2 separate regions of the Homo sapiens genome follow, and region 1 is linked to region 2. The links are contacts of gene promoters, found by promoter capture Hi-C in human tissues and cell types (Jung and others, 2019). All regions are on one chromosome and are shown on one strand. Each heading gives the region's core, a stretch centred on a gene start or on the middle of the fragment in contact. The rest is flanking DNA. Distances are from core to core; before and after follow the strand shown. Region 1 overlaps TPCN2 (two pore segment channel 2). Region 2 holds the start of C11orf24 (chromosome 11 open reading frame 24).

Region 1 (3,828 bases), core at 1,157-3,656, 780 kb before region 2:
ATGACATGGGTGCATGCAGGGTGGGCCGTGACCCGAGCCCCACACCACACACGAGACAGGCCCAAGTCTCAGGCTGTGGATCACAGGGGACGCTTCAGCGTGTGGACATGGCCAGCCCTGACCCATCAGGCCCACACCATCACAAACCACGAGGTTTGCCCAACACACAAGACCTCACAGGCCACACACCCGGGGTGGGTGGGTGCGTGAGCAAACACTCAGGGAACACTTGCTGAGAGCACAGCTGTGCCCGTGTCTGCCTGCGAGGCTCTCTCTTCTCTGTGCAAGGCTGACCCTCCCACGCCCCGTGCAGCTGTGTCATCCTCCAGGATGCCCCCACCCACCCGGGACCTAGAATGGGGTGGTCCACAACAGGCCTCAGAACACGGTGCATCAAAGCAGCAAATGCGTCCAGGATGCAGAAGACAAGTCCTCCGGGGACTGACGAAGAGCCGTGCCCAGAGGCTCCACCCTCAGTTCTCTTAACCTACAGTCCAGCAATGGAGGCCTTGGACCCAGTCAGTCGCCCCTGGAGGGGCGAGCCAATCGGAGGGCGGCCACCCCCCAGGCCCGGCCACAGGGAGCAGGTGCCACCGACCTGAATAGCATCTTCGATGAAGACCACAGCCTGATCAATGCAGAGGTCCCACCTGGCCGCGGCACCTGCAGGCAGAGGGGACACATCAGGTGACCGAGCAGGATGACATGGCCTCACCCTCCAGGATACCCGTGATCAAGGAAAGATGCCGGCTGTGGTTCTTCCCAAGGCCGTTTGTAAAGAGATGACTCCACCCGGCAGTGGGGCTGCATGTACCTGCCCAGGGCAGGGACCAAACCAGGTAAGTGCCTCGGCATCAAATGCACAGGCCAGGCCCAGGGCACGGCACCTCCGCATGCAGCGCACACAACTAGCAAGCCTGTGGGAAGCGGCACATCCTGCAGGGCCCTGGCACCAGCGTCGGGGTTCAGAGCCCGGCTCCTCCACGTGCTGGCAGGAAGGCTGTGGCTGGCTCCTCCTCTGTCAAGTGGGGCTATTTACAGCCACCCAATCGGCTCCCCAGAGGGTACTGTGAGGTGCAACGCAGGAGCACAAGAGCCCCCTGCCACGCTCCCCAGGCATGCTCGGTACATGGGGCTGCTGTCACCCCTCTTCCGCTCGGCCCTACCTGGCTCCTGCACAGTCTTCATGAGCCAGGACACTGTACCCAGTGTCCCACCCACCCCCATCAAACCAGACCTCGGATTCAACAGTGACAGGGAGAACTGGCATCTAGAACCCAAAGGCACTGCCATGAGGCTTCATGAGTGCTACCAAGGTCCCATTCCCTCACTGTCCCGGTCCATGGGCCCAGGCAAGCCCACCCAAATCACTCCCAGGGTCAGAGCTGCAGGAACGCCCGAGTCCCCCAGCCTCTGCCGGTGCCTTCTGTGGTGAAGGGTGGCCGCCCGCCTTTACCAACAGCACAAGCAGGGTGGAGCCTCCCGGCAGGCCTGGGCAAAAGCGGCAGTGGCTCCTGACTAGGAGGGGCCTTCAGGAAAAGTCAGGCGGCACAGAAGCCAGGACCCAGCACCCTGGCCTGCTCACAAGCCCCTCACCTGCCACAGAGCAGCCAGCGGGCGCACCTGGTCAGCCACTGAGCCACTGCAGGGAGCCTGGGCCACCCACCCGCATCGTAGGCACGGGCCACCTCTGGCCTCGCTGCAGAGCTGCTCCCCAGCAGGCCAACAGGGAAGGAAAACTCAACCCGAAGCAACTGAGGAGCCCGGAGAGGCTGACACTTCCCAGCACGGGGAGAGGGTGAAGCAGCTGCTTTTTCAGTTGAGACTCGGCTTTCACACCTGGCCCCTTGGGGCCCACAGCTGCACCAAGACAATGTGGTGACATGGGAGGCAGCAGCAGAGGCCTCAGGAGGTGCTGGTCCCCAGGCAGAGCTCCAGGCCATGACCCGCCCACGCCACTGGCCATCCTTAGGGAGGCAGCTGCCCCTGTCCTCGGGGCTCCTGCTTGGGGGCATGAGGTATAGGCAGCTGGGCCCTGGACGGATTAGAGGTGTGAGGGGCCCCAGACAGAGGCAGGAGACCGGACCCCACCCTCACTCTGCCCGGCCCTGCTGCACTGCCGGGAGCAAGAGCCTTCCCTCCCTGTGGCTTTGGTGCCCACATGCACAGCCACGAGACCCACCCTGAGGACACCCGAATGTCTCCCCAGGGAAGCTCTGAAAGTGGCTACTGTTTATGTCCCCTGAGCACATCCTGGGATCGCTATGAACAGAAGCCACACTGTTTTGTTCCCTGCTGTATCTGCAGAGCCCAGAAGTCAAGCACACAGGACTCAAAGCTGATATATCCCATGAATAAATGAACAGCCCTGAGGGGAGCCTGGGGGGCCGGTGATCTGAGAGGCCCCACCTTACCAGATTCCCTGGGAGAAGACAAAATCTCTACCAGGAGAGATCTAGTGATACAAGCTTCTTAGACAAGAGACAAGCGGCCGAGTTCCGGGCCTCACTCCAGCCCCAGGACCACGGAAAGTACTCACATCCACCCAGGCCAGCCATCCCAGGCCAACAGTGGTGGGCACCCCTGGAACCATCCAGCACTCGTGGTTCCCTTTCGCCTGGCTTTTTGGTTGCTGGTTTGTAAAATTCTGGGTCTGGCCATCCTCCGTTTCACCCTGCAACAGCCCAAGGATCTCGTTCCAAACACTCAGAAGCACATCGCAGCTTCCCCTGGGCCCCCACTATTCCAGGCCCACACTCCACCCTGGTCTGGCACTGCAGGTTCCCACATTTGCCGGCCCGCCTCTCTCCTGCCTTTCAACCCTCAGTGCCACTCATTCCGAACTGGGCTCTGCCAAGGCCATGCTCTCCAAAGCCTCCAACCCTTTACTCAGGCTGCTGCTTCTGCCAGGAGCACCATCCCCCAATTTGTGAGTCCAGGGACTCCCTTGGGACAGCTCGCCCCGCCCTGAGCTCATCACCCTGGGGGACAATCACCTTTCCACACACCATCACCCACTGGGGCTGAAGGGTTCTGCAAGGCACAGAGGACAGCAGGGGCTGAGATGCTGCATCCGGCACACCAGGCCTCGACACGGCTTCCTAATCCAAGCCTCTGCCCCGCAACATCCAGGTCTGAGCTCCCGCTCCCCTGTTGCTCCAGGCTCCAGGCTGCACAACCTGTGTAGGGTCCTGACCATCATCCTCTGTGACCCTGGGCAAGTCCCTTAACCTCTAGGTGCTCCAGGTCCTCATGGACCCCCACCCAATAGGAGCTAAGTACAGACTGAATGACTTACTATAGCCAGAGTACTTTGCTAAGTGAGCCCTTCATAAGCATTCAGTTACTCTGAAAGCCTCTACAGCATCGCAATCCCTTGTCCTCTGACTTGTTTGATAACCAGTAAAAGTGTGATTTTTCTGACCCAGCAACAAGAGAAAACAACTGTTCTCAACCTTTGACCCCGGCCCCATCAGGTGGGGCCAAGTCAAAACGACCCAACAGCAGGGTCCACTGGGGTCCTTGGGGCACCCACAGCAGCAGCCCTCACCACAACCCGTTGGCAAGAGACCAACCACAGGACTTGCAAACCAGAGCACAGGGCCTTCATTTCAAAGCCTGGCACAGGCCTCAGCACAGAGACTGAATGAGCCTTTCGGAGTCTCCATGGCTCCATAGTCTGCCAGTCCTTGCTGGGGACCCTGGCCAAGGGGATTCAGAACACAGAGCGTCCTGTCCACGTTCTCAGAAGCCCTGGCTGAGGCCACAGCATAGGGACAAAGAGCGCTCCCCGAGAGCCTCCTCTTGTCAGCCACACTGCCCAGCAGA
Region 2 (3,418 bases), core at 320-2,819:
AGGTGATCCGCCCGCCTTGGCCTCCCAAAATGTTGGGATTACAGGCGTGAGCCACCGCGCCCAGCCCAGTCATTGATTTTTGAAAAGGGCAGGCAAAGAACTAAAATCTGCCTGCCGATTGTATATTTTCACTTCTGGAGTGAGCCTCAATACTGTACTTCATGTTAGATCCGAACTAGTTGGAAAAATTAAAGCAAATACATAGTGAAAGGATCTGATCTTCACATGATCCAACCGGCGTTGGGTCTCAGCAAACCCAACTTTGCAGGTTAAATTCCACACATGAACTGTGGTTGAACTGGGGATGGTGGTGGTGACATCAAATCGCATTTCAGGTGCTCCCAGAGCTCGGAGTGGATGGTAGATCCTGTCTTTGCCCAATCTCAGCTTTCTGTGTCTCTTAGCTTCCTAGCCGAAGACCCCAAGGCAGGTTATAAAACTGGAAATAAAGTCTTGGTTTGCTCCTGTGAAATCATCCTTCGCAGACAGGTTTTGGTTTGGACCGGGGGATGCCTGAGGGTCTTATACAGACTGGGATTCAGTCACAGAACTACTAACTTGCAAAGCCTATTTCTTTCTTTCTTTTTTTTTTTTGGAGACAGAGTCTCGCTCTGTCGCCCAGGCTGGAGTGCAGTGGCACGATCTCTGCTCACTTCAACCTCCACCTCCCAGGTTCAAGCAATTCTCCTGCCTCAGCCTCCCGAGTAGCTGGGACTACAGGCGCACGCCACCACGCCCGGCTAATTTTTTGTATTTTAGTAGACACAGGGTTTCACCATGTTGCCCAGGCTGGTCTCGAACTCCTGAGCTCAGATAATCCGCCCGTCTCGGCCTCCCAAAGTGCTAGGATTACAGGCAAGAGCCACCGCGCCTGGCCTGCAAAGCCTATTTCTAACCAAAGTCAAGTCCCACACACTTGCCTCTAAATTGCGTTTTGCTCCTTTGTTATCCCAGGTTTTACAATTACAGAGCACTTGATGAGCCTGTTTCCACGTCTGTAAAATGAGGCGAAGTTCTTCACTGTGCTATTGCAGAATTAAGCCACTGGCTCTATAGGCAAAGTGCTTAGCACGGGCGTGGCACGCTGCGGGTGCACAGAAACGCTCGCTGCCACCCCACCCTTAACTACCGGGCACCCCAGCGCCCCGCCAGGGGCTGAAGAAACGTGGGAGGAAGCGGAGGAACGCGAAGGGCGTGTGCCCGCGAAAGGTCTCACGAGGCGTTTCGAGGTCGCCTCTTCAGGCTCGGCTGCCGACAAGGTGCCTCTGAGCTCACCCAGCCCAACCCGCGCACCCCGGGACCCCAAGACGGCAGCGGGCACAGCTGGGCAGCAGAGACCCGGGAACACCCACTTCCGCCACAGACCTGCTCAAAATAGCTCCTTCTGGCAGCGCGCAAGAAGTGGCCCGAGCCGGCCCCGGGGAGGCGGGGCCTGAGAGCAGACAACCCCCCCACTTCCGGCTCGCCTCCGTTCGCCACAGGCCCCGCCGCAGCCGCTCTTCGCCCCGGCCAGCAGGCCCGCCCCGCCCTCCGTGACGTCATTTCCGGCGTTTGGGCGGGGCCCGGGCAGGGCGCGCTGCCCGGAGCTGCCTGGGTTGCGCTGCCGGCCACGTCCCCGCGCCGGGCCTCAGGCTCCTTCCTACTGTCCGAGGGCCACCAGGCCGCCGGGGGCCTGCTGCGCCCGGGTAAGGGGCTCGCACTGCCGTCCGGGTAGCTGCTGTCAGGGCTCCCTGACTGGCTTGGGACTGAGAGACAGAGGTTGGGGGGCAGGAGGAGGGTTGGATGGGGGCACGAGGGGCAGTGGGAGAGTGAGTGGGGCTGAGAGAGGCAGGAGGAACGGGACAGGAGGAGCGGCGGATGGGGCACGCACAGAGTGCAAGACGCTGAGCAATGCAGGTACTGAAGAAGTCAACTGGGGGCCGAGCATGGCTGGGGGCCCAAGAGACAGGAGGAGGGAGGAGGGCCGAAGGGGGCCCAGACTGGAGAAGAGGCCGGCTTGTCCCATTGTGGGAGCAGAATGGGGACACTCTGGAAGGGGGCCGAATTTGTCCTGGGGTCTTTCCCGGGCAAGCCCAGGACGGGACTGGACCCCAAGAAGTGTCGCTCTTACTTGAGTGACACAGACCTATCCCCCAGACCCTCTCTCTACCTGGGTGGAGGTTGTGCATTGCCCCAGATTCCCTCCCCTGCCCATCTGTCTCCCTGCCTGCTTCCCCCGTGCGAGTCACTTAGTAGCCCCCGTGTGGCTGCTTAGCATGTTGACTTAATCGTTAGGCTGATAGGAGGAATCGGCCTCCACACGCATGGTTTGCCACCAGAAATAATCATCGTGCTTAGAAATCTGACTGTAATAACTTGCAGCTATCCCTCGCCCCAGGAAAATCTCTAACATTTCGATAAAATCAGCTAGGAAAATCTTTAAAATACAGATGTTTCCATTTATACAGTGGATCTGCCTAATGGACAAAGGAATGTCAGAGCTACCCACGTTCTTAGCAAAAACTAGGCCCTAGTATTTAGCTGTGTTACCAAAACTTCCAGAAACCTGGAAGCAAGCAAGGTAGTTAATGTAATATAATAAATGTCCAATGTTCTAGGTTCCCGTCTGCCACAGAGTCACATCCTTTGGACTACAGGACAATGTCTATATACACAAAGCCATAAGTCTGTGTTCCTTGGGCTTCTGCTACCAAAGTTCAGCCAGGTGACGTGTCAGGATTAGGTACCTGCAGTTTGCCCTGTATTTGTGTTTGCAGTTCCTACTCCTTGGTATCTGTAGCTTGCCTAACTTGGTGTGGGGGCCTGGCCATGTTGCGGCTGAGTGAGTCTTAATAGCCTGATAGAATGTGGGGGTAACAGCTGTAGTCCTTTACCAAGCTTCAGGATTGGTCTTTGGAACCTCTCTATGCCAGAAAAAAAGAATTAAGTTATTTCTTTCCCTTTTTTTTTTTTTTTAAGAGATGGGGTCTCACTATGTTGCCCAGGCTGAACTCAAACTTCTGGGCTTGTAATCCTCCCACCTCAGCCTCCTGAGTGTCTGGGATTACAGGCATGCAGCACCACGCCTGGAGTCCAGTTTTGTGTAACTTGCATAAAGTGCGCCACATATAACAAGCCAAGGTTCGGAACACAAGAATTCAGACAAGATGCCTTGGGAGGCATCTCGAGGTCATGAACCAGAAAAGGATAGGGAGGTTGACACCCAGGGGCATAGTTGGGGGTGCCTTTGTCATGGAGTGTCACATGGCTCAAGGGAGTATCCTGTTGCACCTTCCTTGCAGATCCTATGGGGAGCTGACCCCTGAAGAAGGGAGCTCCCAGTGCCAGCCTAACCTTCCGTCTTTCCATCTGCCCTGGTCTCCAACTTAATACAAACTTAATTCTCTCTCGCTCATTCCCCTCCTGCCCCTGGGGTCTC

Evidence for each region. The method cuts DNA at HindIII sites, captures the fragments that hold promoters and counts their contacts. A contact is called where the count stands out against the background at its distance.
Region 1: a fragment that was not itself captured here is called in contact with the fragment with the promoter of C11orf24 in region 2 in 1 of the 25 tissues and cell types used here (aorta).

Annotation. Positions count from the first base shown.
Region 1 is chr11:69,050,868-69,054,695 of GRCh38, reverse strand. TPCN2 (two pore segment channel 2) reads right to left here. Exons shown (of 25, transcript NM_139075.4): 2 at 599-663. Among named protein-coding and RNA genes, the nearest start is that of TPCN2, 3.8 kb to the right of the region's middle. RefSeq lists enhancers at 258-387, 1,062-1,635, 2,786-3,360. The HindIII fragment of the contact is 3,678 bases long and covers 568-3,828 here.
Region 2 is chr11:68,270,124-68,273,541 of GRCh38, reverse strand. It overlaps C11orf24 (chromosome 11 open reading frame 24), which reads left to right and starts at 1,569. Exons shown (of 4, transcript NM_022338.4): 1 at 1,569-1,685. It overlaps LOC105369363 (a long non-coding RNA gene), which reads right to left and starts at 1,440. Exons shown (of 3, transcript XR_950248.3): 1 at 1,366-1,440. RefSeq lists an enhancer at 606-1,460 and a silencer at 1,372-1,771. The HindIII fragment of the contact is 13,528 bases long and covers 1-3,418 here.